5 separate regions of the Homo sapiens genome follow, and all the other regions are linked to region 1. Evidence: promoter capture Hi-C in 16 types of primary human blood cells and fetal thymus (Javierre and others, 2016). All regions are on one chromosome and are shown on one strand. Each heading gives the region's core, a stretch centred on a gene start or on the middle of the fragment in contact. The rest is flanking DNA. Distances are from core to core; before and after follow the strand shown. Region 1 holds the start of CCNB1IP1 (cyclin B1 interacting protein 1). Region 2 has its middle 8.5 kb from the start of RNASE9. Region 3 has its middle 9.5 kb from the start of RNASE9. Region 4 holds the start of RNASE10 (ribonuclease A family member 10 (inactive)). Region 5 has its middle 15 kb from the start of PNP.

The links. Contacts are between HindIII fragments. The CHiCAGO score rates a contact against its expected background, and 5 or more counts as called.
Region 2: a fragment that was not itself captured here is called in contact with the fragment with the promoter of CCNB1IP1 in region 1 in 1 of 17 cell types (activated CD4 T cells); the score reaches 5.5 in activated CD4 T cells.
Region 3: a fragment that was not itself captured here is called in contact with the fragment with the promoter of CCNB1IP1 in region 1 in 10 of 17 cell types (naive CD8 T cells, activated CD4 T cells, erythroblasts and 7 more); the score reaches 9.4 in naive CD8 T cells.
Region 4: a contact is called between the fragment with the promoter of RNASE10 here and the fragment with the promoter of CCNB1IP1 in region 1, in 2 of 17 cell types (M0 macrophages and M2 macrophages). The highest score is 6.0, in M0 macrophages.
Region 5: a contact is called between a fragment that was not itself captured here and the fragment with the promoter of CCNB1IP1 in region 1, in 2 of 17 cell types (naive CD4 T cells and fetal thymus). The highest score is 5.8, in naive CD4 T cells.

The regions. Positions count from the first base shown.
Region 1 is chr14:20,331,951-20,334,722 of GRCh38, forward strand. CCNB1IP1 (cyclin B1 interacting protein 1) reads right to left here and starts at 1,329. Exons shown (of 7, transcript NM_021178.5): 1 at 1,304-1,329. RefSeq lists an enhancer at 1,099-1,408. The HindIII fragment of the contact is 11,464 bases long and covers 1-2,772 here.
Region 2 is chr14:20,568,122-20,570,893 of GRCh38, forward strand. No RefSeq gene overlaps it. Among named protein-coding and RNA genes, the nearest start is that of RNASE9, 8.5 kb to the left of the region's middle. The HindIII fragment of the contact is 847 bases long and covers 947-1,793 here.
Region 3 is chr14:20,550,146-20,552,917 of GRCh38, forward strand. No RefSeq gene overlaps it. Among named protein-coding and RNA genes, the nearest start is that of RNASE9, 9.5 kb to the right of the region's middle. The HindIII fragment of the contact is 3,221 bases long and covers 1-2,772 here.
Region 4 is chr14:20,504,176-20,506,947 of GRCh38, forward strand. RNASE10 (ribonuclease A family member 10 (inactive)) reads left to right here and starts at 1,362. Exons shown (of 2, transcript NM_001386206.3): 1 at 1,362-1,844. The HindIII fragment of the contact is 24,242 bases long and covers 1-2,772 here.
Region 5 is chr14:20,482,735-20,485,506 of GRCh38, forward strand. No RefSeq gene overlaps it. Among named protein-coding and RNA genes, the nearest start is that of PNP, 15 kb to the left of the region's middle. The HindIII fragment of the contact is 4,099 bases long and covers 1-2,772 here.

The DNA.
Region 1 (2,772 bases), core at 79-2,578:
GAACCATGTGAATGTATTACCTATTCAAAAATATATATATATATGATGTGTATACATATATATATATATATATATATTTTTTTTTTTTTTTTTTTTTTTTTGAGACAGAGTTTCGCTCTTGTTGCCCAGGCTGGAGTGCAATGGCGCGATCTCGGCTCACCGCAACCTCCACCTCCCGGGTTCAAGCGATTCTCCTGCCTCAGCCTCCCGAGTAGCTGGGATTACAGGCATGCGCCGCCATGCCCCAAAAAATAAATTTTAACAATGCTTGAGAATTATAAAAATTATGGGAGGCCTACAAATACCTATTACTACATTCGATTAACTGGTTTATTATTTGTCTTTCTCACACTTTCTGCCTATAAGAATATCCAACACAAACATCACATTAAAATTAACATGTACCAAAAGAAAGGAATTCAGTGAAATGACATTGAAGGTCACTAAGCAAACTTTTTATGAGAAAACAGATATCCAAAATACTTGCTGTAAATAAATAAGTACTGCTTACTTCTAAAGGTACCTAACATTTATTACACACCAACTAGAGCCTAGTTTTTATATATTTTATCTGATCTTGGAAAGCTAAGCCTCGGAATGGCTCACTGCTTCTCCCAAGGTCACCAGAGCTGTAAACTGTGGCGCTGGAATTTAAATCTAGAGGCTTGCCCTGAACTAAGGTCCCTAATCTTTTTCCATAGCTTTTAAGGACACAATCACCACAGTGGCAACATTAAAAATTAGGAGCTCCTTTTAAGGCTTATCTGTCTTCAGAGTTTGCTGCCCAGGTTCACCAAGAAAGCCGAAATGATCTGAGCGAAGGCCAGGAGAAAGACAAGGTACGCTGCAGCTTCCACAAACCCAGTAAGGACCTGGGCCCTCTAGACACTCACCGGAGAATTAAACTCTACTGAGCTGAACGCCTTCTCCCGAAATCTGACCTCACCCAGGGAGATATAAATCAAAACAGCATTAGGATGATAATATCTTTCCCGCCAAGCAAAATGAAGCCGGCGTTTTCCAAGAACACACGCACTGTGCACATGAAGCACAGTCTATTGTTCCTGGGTCACCAGGACTCGGAGACGGAAGGCAAACCCAGTACTGCAGAGGCCCACGTGGAAACAAGCCAGGAAGAGCATTTCACTGCCTTCTCCCAACCTCCACACAGCCGAAATTAATCTCCTTGCGACTCACACACACTCCTATGCCGACTTGAAATAAAGGCCTGCCACCTGGGTATATAACTCAAATGGAAGAGAAATTCAAAACAATTAGAGAGCAAAATTAAGCGCACACTCACCAGCCCACCAAAACGGAGAGGGAAAGAAAGTGGAGAGACAGGAAGTCGCCTTGGGAAGTGTCTTCAGAACCTGATTGGCTAATGAGTTCAAGAGGATTCCCTCCTCCTTTACCTTAAAAGGTGCTGAAATGACGTAACCCACTCCACCCCTCTTTATGGACCAGTGATGCTTCTTGCACTATTTTTGGAGTGAACTTCTTAAACCGAGTTTCCTTTTGAGTTAATGTACTTAGGCAAAAACAGGCTAATTTAAGCTATTTATACACGTTGTTGTTTGCGTGGGCCTACTGCATTCTATTCTAAAGAATTTTCATCCCTTAAGGGTAATTTCTTATCCTTTGTGACCTCAACATGCTTAACTTATGCTAGGCAACAGATTCCATTATAAACAGTCTAGATCGATTCAAGTTAAAATTTACCTTCATTTTTTCCCCCCAGATCCAAAGCTGGCCTGATAAAATTTACCTTCAGGTAATCTTTGAACTAACAGGCTTAGTAGATAAAAGGTAGGTGGGTTAAGTGTTTTAGGCTTCAAATAAAATTTAGCTGATTTTGAATCTGAACCTTGCCACTTATTTGCACACATCTAAGCCTCAGTTCCAACTATAAAAAGAGGGAAAAAAGATGAAATCTTCCTACTCTGATGGTTATGAGGATTAAGTAAAATAATTTATATAATGTACTCAGTACAATGCCCGGTACACAGTACTCAACAATGTTAGCTGTTATTATTGTTATTACATATTTCTTGTTAGATTTATATTCCCAAGTAGACTATAAACAACTGGAGATCAAAGTGTACGTTTTACACATCTCCAGACAAAAACAATGACTTTCAATGCTGAGGACATAATTGATTAATCAATTATTTTGACTCCTCACATCGCCCTCCAGTTAAAGTATAGGTTCTTACTCTGTTAAATTTTTTTTTTTTTTGAAACAGGGTCTCACTTCGTGTCCCAGGCTGGAGTGCAGTGGTGAAATCTCGACTCACTGTAGCCTTGACCTCCCAGGTTCAAGCGATCTCCTGCCTCAGTAAGTAGCTGGGACTACAGGCGTGCACCATCACACCCAGCTAATTTTTGTATTTTTTTGTAGAGATGGGGTTTCGCCATGTTGCCCAAGCTGAAAGATTTCTTTTTAAGCCATAATTAGAGGACTCCCCGGCACAATATTCATCATTATTCTTAATAAATACTATTATAGTAATAGGGAATATATATACAAGTATGTGTTATATGTACAAATATACATGTAATGTGCAAATGTTTGAAGTATAAAGATTCAAGTTATATGGAGAAATGATACAACTCTAACTCATAGTAGTTCTCATTTTTTAATCATTTCATCCTATCCACCCTGCTTCCACCTTACTAGAAATTACCTATTCCAATCCACTTTAGAGTTTACCTGCCCCAAATTTCCCAACATTTAGCATCAAATGCTAATTTGTTATTTCATAATTGATT
Region 2 (2,772 bases), core at 120-2,619, 240 kb after region 1:
ACATGATGAAGCTGTTAGTTGCTCCTAAGTTCAGTGGATAAAGTGATGAAAGAAAATTATGAACTCAAGGATTCTGTCTCTCAGCTTCAGAAGCAGATACTGAGCCTCAAATCTACTAAGATTGCTTTGAGTGAGAGTCTTATCTCCTGTAGAAAAAGAGGTGAAATTGTGAAAAAACAGACACAGACTTTTATCATGCGAGTGGCTGAACTGCCACAAAAGGGGCATGCACAGCCTTACCAGGTGTCTACTGTTAAAGTGAGGGCATTGGCTGGAATGGGACCCTGCAACTTGGAATGAGGACGTGTGGGAGGACCCTGATGAAGCTGGGGACACTGAGTTTGTAAACGCTGATGAACCATTTTTGCCAGAAGATACAGCTTTCTCATCCCCAGTAGTGGCAACATCCCCTCCCCAACCCATGCTGCTATCAGCCTTTCCACCTTTGTCTGAGGAGATAAACCCTGTGCTGTCTGAGGCAACACTGATGGCCCCCCATGAGGCAGTTGCCAGTCAAAATAATGTTGATTCTCCTCAGGAGCCACCCCTAACACTCCTATCTGCTTCTAGACCTGTAACTAGACTAAAGTCCCAGTGGGCCCCTAGAGGTGAGGTTCAGAGTGCGACCCATGAGGAGGTATGCTACACTTGAAAAGAACTGCTTGAGTTCTCTAATTTATATAAACGGCAGCCTGGAGGGAATGGGAACGGATATTAAGGGTATGGGATAATGGTGGAAGGAACATAGAGCTGGATCAGGCTGAATTTATTGATTTGGGCCCACTAAGTAGAGACTGTGCATTTAACATTGCAGCTCAGGGAGTTAAAAAGGGTTCTAATAGTTTATTTACTTGGTTAGCTGAAATACAGTTTAAAAGATGGCCCACTGCAAGCAAGCTGGAAATGCCTGATCTCCCTTGGTTTAATGTAGAGGAAGGGATCCAAAAGCTTAGGGAGATTGGGATGGTGCAGTGGATTCATCACTTTAGACCTACTCATCCCAGCTTGGAGGGTCCAGAAGATATACCCTTGACCAATGTCTTGCAAAATAGATTTGTAATGGCAGCATCTGCATCTTTGAAGAGCCCTGTACTTGCTCTTCTCTGCATGTCAGGTCTAACAGTGGGAACCACAGTCACTCAACTACAAAATTTAAATACAGTGGGAATGATTGGATCCTGAGGTGGCAGAGGCCAAGTCATTACATTACTGACAATTTATGCAGTGAATCTTTCTCCTATCTTTCCCCAAGGAGACCTCCAGCCTTCTACCAGGGTAACTGTACACTGGGAAAGGGAAATGATCAGGCATTTTGGGGACTACTGGACACAGGGTCTGAGCTGATGTTGATTCCAGGAGACCCAAAACGTCACTGTGGTCCTCTAGTTAAAGTAGGGGCTTATGGAGGTGAGGTAATTAATGGAGTTTTAGCTCAGGTCCCACTTACAATGGGTCCCCGGACTCATCCTACGGTCATTTCCTTAGTGCCAAAATGTGTAATTGGCATAGACATACTTAGCAGCTGGGAGAACACCACATTGGCTCCCTGACTGGTAGGGTGAGGACTATTATGGTGGGAAAGGCCAAATGGAAGCCATTAGAGCTGCCTCTACCTAGAAAAATAGTAAATAAACAACAATATCATATTCCTGGAGGGATTACAGAGATTAGTGCCACCTTCAAGGAATGGAAAGATGCAGGGGTGAGGATTCCCAACACATCCCCATTCAACTCTCTCATTTGGCCTGTGCAGAAGACAGATGGATCTTGAAGAATGACAGTGGATTATCGTAAGCTTAACCAAGTGGTGAGTCCAATTGCAGCTGCTGTACCAGATGTGGTTTTATTGCTTGAGCAAATTAACACATCTCCTGATACCTGGTATGCAGCCATTGACTTGGCAAATGCCTTTTTCTCCATTCCTGTCCATAAGGCCCAACAGAAGCAATTTGCCTTCAGCTGGCAAGGCCAGCAATATACCTTTACTGTCCTACCTCAGGGGTATATCAGCTCTCTGGCTTTGTGTCATAATCTTATTCGAAGAGACCTTGATGGCTTTTTGCTTCTGCAAAATATCACACTGCTGGTCCATTATGTTGATGACATTATGCTGATTGGATCCAGTGAGCAAGAAGTAGCAAATGCACTGGACTTATTGGTGAGACATTTGCATGCCAGAGGATGGGAAATAAATCTGACTAAAATTCAGGGAACTTCTACCTCAGTAAAATTTCTAGGGGTCCAGTGGTGTGCAGCCTGTCAAGATAGTCCTTCTAAGGTGAAGGATAAGTTGCTTCATTTGGCCCCTCCTGCAACCAAGAAAGAAGCACGATGCCTAGTGGGCCTATTTGGATTTTGGAGGCAGCACATTCCTCATTTGGGTGTGTTACTCCAGCCCATTTGTTGAGTGACCCCAAATGCTGCCAGTTTAGAGCAGAATAGGAGAAGGCCCTGCAACATGTCCAGGCTGCTGTGCAAGCTGCTCTGCCACTTGGGCCATATGACCCAGCAGATCTAATGGTGCTTGAGGTGTCAGTGGTAGATAGGGATGCTGTTTGGAACCTTTGACAGGTCCCATATGTTAATCACAGTGGAGGCCTCTAGGATTTTGGAGCAAGGCCCTGCCATCTTCTGCAGATAACTACTCTTCTTTTGAGAGACAGCTCTTGGCCTGTTACTGGGCTTTGGAGGAAACTGAAAGTTTGACTATGGGTCATCAACTCACCATGTGATCTGAACTGCCTATCATGAACTAGGTGTTTTCTGACCATC
Region 3 (2,772 bases), core at 130-2,629, 220 kb after region 1:
ATTGCCTTAGTTCCCAGGTACTAGCAGTGCCCCTTTACTGACCTTACTCTTCTTCCTGTTGTAAACACCTCCTTAGAGTTCTTTTCATGTCCAACCCTTGGTCATCTTCCATCCTGCCTCTCAAGCAGGGTAAAATCCCTCATTCTCTTACTCTTATTTTCTCCTGAAATTCCTCCCTTTCATATTCTTAATGTTCCCTCCTCCTTAGAAGCCCACTCTCTATTTTGATGTTTGCTGCACAGGTTCCTAGACCAATATGGAAAATCCAAAAATGTGCTGCTCTCCCCTTTGTTGATCTCTCACCTGAACAATGAACACAGTGCATGCTGTGGAATATGGGTAAAAAATTAGTTCATCAAAATGTTTATATAATTGAAAATTCTGTATTATATGTAATGTATTTGTTCATTTAAAAATACTTATTGAATATTAAGTGGCAGGCATTAGGCATTGAGGATAGAAAAGAATGAGAGAATGCTTGAAATACTATGCATTTCGTTATGGAAATACTAGGGCATTATTACACTAGGGTGTATATTGAAGTGGTGAGTTGCTTGTACCCACTTGTAATGAACATATTTTAAAAAGAGAAGGAAGAAAATCTTTGACAATGGAATAATGTCAAATATTTGAATATTTTGAATTAAGTAAGGCAGCACATTTGTGTATATACCCATCACTGCGAATGTTCTTGTTCACTTGAAGTTATAATCTAGTAGCTGGAAAACATGTCAGTGTCATCATTCTATCTTATGGGAAATGCCCCTGAATTCAAAATCTCACTTGGTTAAAGACTAATTTACCTTCAGTTTGATAGGACTCGAAGCACGCTCCAAAGGCTCCAGGTATCTCCTTTGATCTTTCAAGAAGAACTTGATATTGATGACTAGCTCTTGTAATCTTTCAACTATGGAAACTTAGGTGGAATATTTCTTCTTGTATTCAATGCAAATTATGCAATGAATGCATCAGATGTGATGAGGAAGGGATGAGCCACTGCTTCCTTGTGTTTCTAAAAATATGACAGTTCACAAATGTCATGATCTTATGTCAGAGACATGTGAGAAAGATCCATCTTAGAGAAAGAGAAGAAAGATTGGGATAAAATATGTGATTTCATTTTTTAATCCTTATTTGTTGTGTGACAGGAAAAATAGGAAACAGTGGACAGAGAATATGATCCCCTTACTTGTGACACAAGAGGTAATGATGAACAGTGAAAGGGTATATAAAAACACTTCGAAAATTTTATATTATAGAGAAGATACTGTGTGAGGTATTGTGACTGCTACAATATATACATATATATATATATGAATAAAAGTTATTGGCTCTGAATTTATCAGGAATATTAATTCAACTTTGTACCAAAATATTACAGGGCAAATGAATAGGGTTCAATTTAGCATCACCAATTTTCAAGGAGCAGCACAGGGATAGTTAGTAGCTTTGGTTTTATTCTTTTCCTAATGTCATCTAAGAATATCGTGCTAGAATAGAAAGGTGTGAATGGTTAAATTAGGTGTCAGCTTGATTGGGTTGAAGGATGCCTAGATGGCTGGTGAAGCACTGTTCCTGGGGGTGTCTGTGGGGGTGTTTCCAGAGGAGATTGGCAGGTGAGGCAGTTTCCAGAGGAGACTGGCAGGTGAGACTGAGAGAGGAAGACCTGCCCTCAATGTGGGCAGGCACCATTCAATTGACTGCTTGCTCCCCACAACCTTCCCACCCTGTGGCAGCTCTGAGGCCTTCAGCCTCAGACCAGCTTCTCTAACAACCTTGCTTGCTACCAGCTTCTGTCATTCTCTAGCTTGCATATGGCCTGTCGGCCTATTGTGGGACTTCGCTTTTAATCATGTGAGCCAATTCTCCCTAAAAAATTCCCTTACGTATACCTATCCTATTGATGCTGTTCCCCTGGAGAATCCTGTCAACTAAAGAAAAAAAAGATCCAACTTTTAAATAATTAAAATTAGTTTTATTCAGAAGTCTTACTGAGGTCTACAGGCTGGGAGGCCTATAGCCCAGGAGCAGCCCTTTAGAGGGGTTCTATTAGATGGCTCCCATGCAGTATTTTAGTTGACAATTTACAGGTGGTAAAGATTCAGTATATGTGAAATCACATCAAATTTGCTCAGAAGTTACATTAAAGCAGAATCACATCAAGGTTTGGGTGTAAGAGTACATCTGGTTATAGATTACAGGAGTATAATCACTAACCTGGTCAGACCTTATTTTATGCGTAAGAAAACGCAAGGACTGGTGTAATTTATCTTTAGGAATATAGTGAGTCAGGTAAACAGACACGGAGCATGGGGACCGTGCACTCTATTCTGTGGTATCTTCAAACATTCTTCTCAAAGAGCTGCAGGTTGTCATAGAGTGAGGGGCTTTGTGAAATTATGCTGGCAAGCAGAAATGAGCAAAAATGGCATTTACTACTTTGTCTCGCAACTTCCACTAACACAAAGGGACGGGAGCAACTGTGCTGTCTGTTCATTGGGCTAGACTTTTCTCCTATTTACTTAATCAATAACATCATAGACATCAGAAATTTTCAAAGAGAATACCAATTGGGTTTATTCTGGTTAGGAAACAAAATGCTGTGTTTATAGTTTTTCTTACTCTTGGGAATGCTTTGCCTACATTCTTTCACTGAGTAAGTATAATTTAAAGTTAGTGTTGCATCGCCACTTCATATCCATTGAAATTGCTATTAGATATTAAAAAAAGAAGTATTGATGAGGGTTTTGAGAAACTGGAACCCTAGTGCAC
Region 4 (2,772 bases), core at 112-2,611, 170 kb after region 1:
GGGGAGTGGGTTTAGGAAGTAAGTGTGTGTTTAAGAGCACGTGGACCACCAGAAGATAACCATTTTTCTTCAGACTAGCAGCCAGGGCACTGCTCACGAAGAAGGAAACCCTGGGAGGGAAGAACTTGGGGAACGAGAGGACACAAGAATCTCTGCAGCTGCTTATGCATGTACGTAAGTCACAGAGGTGTTGGGTGCCTCAAGGAACAACATGGAAGTCCTCTCTCTTTTTTAAAATAAATAATTTTTTAATAAATTTTCGAGCACTTTGGGAGGCCGAGGCGGGCGGGTCACGAGGTCGGGAGATCGAGACCATTCTGGCTAACACGGTGAAACCCCGTCTCTACTAAAAAATACAAAAAATTAGCCGGGCGCGGTGGCGGGCGCCTGTAGTCCCAGCTACTTGGGAGGCTGAGGCAGGAGAATGGCGTGAACCTGGGAGGCGGAGCTTGCAGTGAGCCGAGATCGCGCCACCGCACTCCAGCCTGGGCGACAGAGAGAGACTCCGTCTCAAAAAAAAAAAAAAAAAAAGGAATCTGTCATTACAACCTTCTCTCACAAAGAACTCCAGGCGCAGACAGCATCACCACAGCATTCTACCAACCATTTACAGGGAAAGTAATGCACGTCCACAAAACTCTTCCAGAAAGACAAGGGAGCACTCACCAGCTCCTGAGGCCAACGTAGCCTCAGTCCCTAACCCAGCAAGGACAGCAGCGGAGAGGAGCTCACAGGCCAGCCCCCGCCACACGTACACACCACTGCGAGGCTCCAAAGCTCAAGCAGCGTGTATCCAGCGAATACAACAAGAATAATGAAAAAGCGTTATCTGATCAATTGCTAGAGGAGCAGAAGTAACTCTGGCAAACCTCACTGAATGTGAATCCTGAAAGTGCCTTGATCTGCGGTTCTACAAGTTATGGTGCTGGAGGTCTCAGCCAATGCTGTAGGGTAGGACAAAGAAAGAGCTCCAGTGCCAGACAAGAAAAAGTAAAACTCTGATTGATTCACCCATGAAACAGTGTCTGTGTTTAGAAACCCCAAAAGAATATATAGACAAATCATAAGGATGAAAAAGTGAGTTTGCTCCCTCTCCCTCTCCCTCTCCCTCTCCCTCTCCCTCTCCCTCTCCCTCTCCCTCTCCCTCTCCCTCCACGGTCTCCTTCCACGGTCTCCCTCTGATGCCGAGCCAAAGCTGGACGGTACTGCTGCCATCTCGGCTCACTGCAACCTCCCTGCCTGATTCTCCTGCCTCAGCCTGCCGAGGGCCTGCGATTGCAGGCGCGCGCCACCACGCCTGACTGGTTTTCGTACTTTTTTGGTGGAGACGGGGTTTCACTGTGTTGGCCGGGCTGGTCTCCAGCTCCTAACCGCGAGTGATCCGCCAGCCTTGGCCTCCCAAGGTGCCGGGATTGCAGACGGAGTCTGGTTCACTCAGTGCTCAATGGTGCCCAGGCTGGAGTGCAGTGGCGTGATCTCAGCTCGCTACAACCTCCATCTCCCAGCCGCCTGCCTTGGCCTCCCAAAGTGCCGAGATTGCAGCCTCTGCCTGGCCGCCACCCCGTCTGGGAAGTGAGGAGCGTCTCTGCCTGGCCGCCCATCGTCTGGGATACGAGGAGCCTCTCTGCCTGGCTGCCCAGTCTGGAAAGTGAGGAGCGTCTCTGCCCGGCCGCCATCCCATCTAGGAAGCGAGGAGCGCCTCTTCCCCGCCGCCATCCCATCTAGGAAGTGAGGAGCGTCTCTGCCCGGCCGCCCATCGTCTGAGATGTGGGGAGCACCTCTGCCCCGCCGCCCTGTCTGGGATGTGAGGAGCGCCTCTGCTGGGCCGCAACCCTGTCTGGGAGGTGAGGAGCGTCTCTGCCCGGCCGCCCCGTCTGAGAAGTGAGGAAACCCTCTGCCTGGCAACCGCCCCGTCTGAGAAGTGAGGAGCCCCTCCGTCCGGCAGCCACCCCGTCTGGGAAGTGAGGAGCGTCTCCGCCCGGCAGCCACCCCGTCCGGGAGGGAGGTGGGGGGGGGTCAGCCCCCCGCCCGGCCAGCCGCCCCGTCCGGGAGGTGAGGGGCTCCTCTGCCCGGCCGCCCCTACTGGGAAGTGAGGAGCCCATCTGCCCGGCCAGCCGCCCCGTCCGGGAGGGAGGTGGGGGGGGTCAGCCCCCCGCCCGGCCAGCCGCCCAGTCCGGGAGGTGAGGGGCGCCTCTGCCCGGCCGCCCCTACTGGGAAGTGAGGAGCCCCTCTGCCCGGCCAGCCGTCCCGTCCGGGAGGGGGGAGGGGGGGTCAGCCCCCTGCCCGGCCAGCCGCCCCGTCCGGGAGGGAGGTGGTGGGGGTCAGCCCCCCGCCCGGCCAGCCGCCCTATCCAGGAGGTGAGGGGCGCCTCTGCCCGGCCGCCCCTACTGGGAAGTGAGGAGCCCCTCTGCCCGGCCAGCCGCCCAGTCCGGGAGGGAGGTGGGGGGATCAGCCCCCCGCCTGGCCAGCCGCCCAGTCCAGGAGGGAGGTGGGGGGTCAGCCCCCCGCCCGGCCAGCCGCCCCGTCCGGGAGGGAGGTGGGGGGGTCAGCCCCCCGCCCGGCCAGCCGCCCCGTCCGGGAGGGAGGTGGGGGGGGTCAGCCCCCCGCCCGGCCAGCCGCCCCGTCCGGGAGGGAGGTGGGGGGATCAGCCCCCCGCCTGGCCAGCCGCCCCGTCCGGGAGGTGAGGGGCGCCTCTGCCCGGCCGCCCCTACTGGGAAGTGAGGAGCCCCTCTGCCTGGCCAGCCGCCCCGTCCGGGAGGGGGGAGGGGGGGT
Region 5 (2,772 bases), core at 173-2,672, 150 kb after region 1:
CAGAATTATGGTAAGAGTAATTTTGGATATTTTCTGTCACTCTGCCATTCTTTATGGCTGTGCAGCTTCTTAACTATTTTTTATCTACTGACTCTTCACTTCAGGATACACCCTATGGCTGTTAGCTGGTCTGTCAAAGATCCAGGAAACTGATCCCTGCTTCAGTTCCACAATACCGAGTTCAGGAATGTTCTCAGACCAGGATATACTGTCTGAGAGAGATGCCTTAGAGAACCAAACTGTTCTCTAAGACCGGGCAATAGTGCTGTCATTATATAACCCTTACACACATGAGATACCTCTGCCCAAGGAGGGGCTCTAGGCAGATTCACACTTGTTTATGAGCACAGATAGGCTGGACCAAGAGAGACTAAATTTCTGCAGAGTCTTCTCACCCATTTAGGAGTTTTCAGTAATAACGCACACACTTTTAGTGAAGATGTTGGAGTGAAGATATGCTTCTGTCTGAATTGGAAAATGTGTTCACTTTTTTGACTGAGCTGAATTTATGCTGTGCTCTTTGGATAAATAACCTTGTTTGATTTATTCAAGTGACATTGTGTCAGGTCTTGCTATCAATCTGCACCTAGTATTGACATTTGTAAATGTAATGGCCATTCAGTTTCTAGATAACCATAACATTTACTTGACAACTCTGTATTGCGCTTACGCTCATTCATTTTTTTTTCTGCATTTGCTTTGAACTTTGTCCTTTTGATAATCAGATGTATTAAGCCTCATATAGAAATGCCAGGATGTGTGTGTGTGTGTGTGTGTGCATATACATCTGCAAACATATGTGTACATATATACATGTATGCAAAATCCAAAATTGACAACTTATAAACTGTCATCTGCCCATGCAAACTTGAAGAAGCTGAGCTTTTCAGCTTTTCAATATCCCAGACAGGGCACCTATCAAGTGTATCTTTCTAGGCTGCTGAACAAGAAGAGATGAACACATGAGAAGGATATGTTTATTTACTTACTCAACAAACGTTCTAGGGGTTAGGGATATGGAGAAGAACAAGACAATGTTTCTGCCTTCATGGTATTTACATTAAATTAGGGGAGTGCGACAACCAATAAACAGAAATGTTTTTAAAAACCTAAGGTAATAATAAGTGTTAAGAAAAAAATAAAGAGGATAGAAGGTAATAGAGGAAGGAAAGGCAAATTAAAACTACAATGAGATACCACTTCACACTCACTAAAATGACTATAATAAATAAGACACACATTAACAAATGTTGGTAAGGACGCAGAAAAACAAGAATCTTTTTAAATTGTGGAATTTCCACTTTCTGGTGGAAATGTAAAATAGTGTAGCCAGTTGGAAAACAGTTTGTCAGTTTCTCAGAAGGCAAAGCACAAAACTACCATATGACCCATCATTTCTACTTGTAGCTGTTTACCTAAGAGAATTAAGATCATAACCACACAAACACACACAAATGTCCACAGCAACTTTTAAAATAATAAGGACTGGAAACATCCCAAATGCCCATCAACTGGTAAATGGATTGTTTAAAAAATGTATATCTAGGCTGGGTGTGGTGGCTTGTGCCTGTTATCCCAGCACTTTGGGAGGCTGGGGCGGGTGGATGACTTGAGGCCAGGAGTACAAGACCAGCCTGGCCAACATAGCAAAACCCTGTCTCTACTAAAAATAAAAAATTAGCCAGGCATGGTGGCATGCACCTGTAATCCCAGCTACTCTGGGGCCGAAGCATGAGAATCACTTGAACCAGGGAGATGGAGGCTGCAGTGAGCTGAGATCATGCCACTGCACTCCAGCCTGGGCAATAGAACGAGACTCCTGTCTTAAAAAAAAAAAGAGAGAAAGAAAAAATGTAAATCTATACAATGGTATACTATTCATTAATAAAAAAGAACAAACTACTGACACATGCTATGTCATGGGTGAACCTCAAAAACATGCTAAATAAAATAATCCAGATACAAATCTGTATTATGTGATTCTATTTATATGAAATATCCAGAAAAATTTCTAGAGACAGAAAGTAGATTAATGGTTTTCTGGGGCTTAGTGTTGAGATGGGGATTAATATAATGGGCATAGAGATCTTATTTAAGGGATAAAAATGTTCCAAAACTGATCTACGTGATTGTTGCAACACTAAATAAAATGATAACAATCATTGAATTTTGCACTTGAAACGAGTGAGTTTTATGATACGTGAAATACAGCTCACTAAGGCTGTTCTGTTTGTTTGTTTGGTTGGTTGGTTGGTTTTTTTTTGAGATGGAATTTTGCTTTCGTTGCCCAGGCCGGAGTGCAATGGCGCTATCTCTGCTCACCGCAACCTCCGCCTCCTGGGTTTGAGCGGTTCTCCTGCCTCAGCCTCCCAAGTAGCTGGGATTACAAGCATGCACCACCATGCCTGGCTAATTTTGTAGTTTTAGTAGAGACAGGGTTTCTCCGTGTTGGTCAGGCTGGTGTTCAACTCCCGACCTTAGGTGATACACCCCCTTGGCCTCCCAAAGTGCTGGGATTACAGGCGTGAGCCACTGCGCCCAGCCAAGGCAGTTTTTTTTAAAAAAAAAGTGATAAAAGGGTGAGTGATTTCAAATAGGTTGGTTCAGGGAAGGCCTCTCCAAGGAGCTGTCAGTTGAGCAGAGACCTGAGTAAATGAGGGCGTGAATGATGCAGTGATTAGAGATGAGTGTGCAAGCAAACATACAAGTTCTTAGGGAACTTAACAATTTAGCAGTAACAGAAGGCCAGTGCTATTAGAGTAGACTGAACAA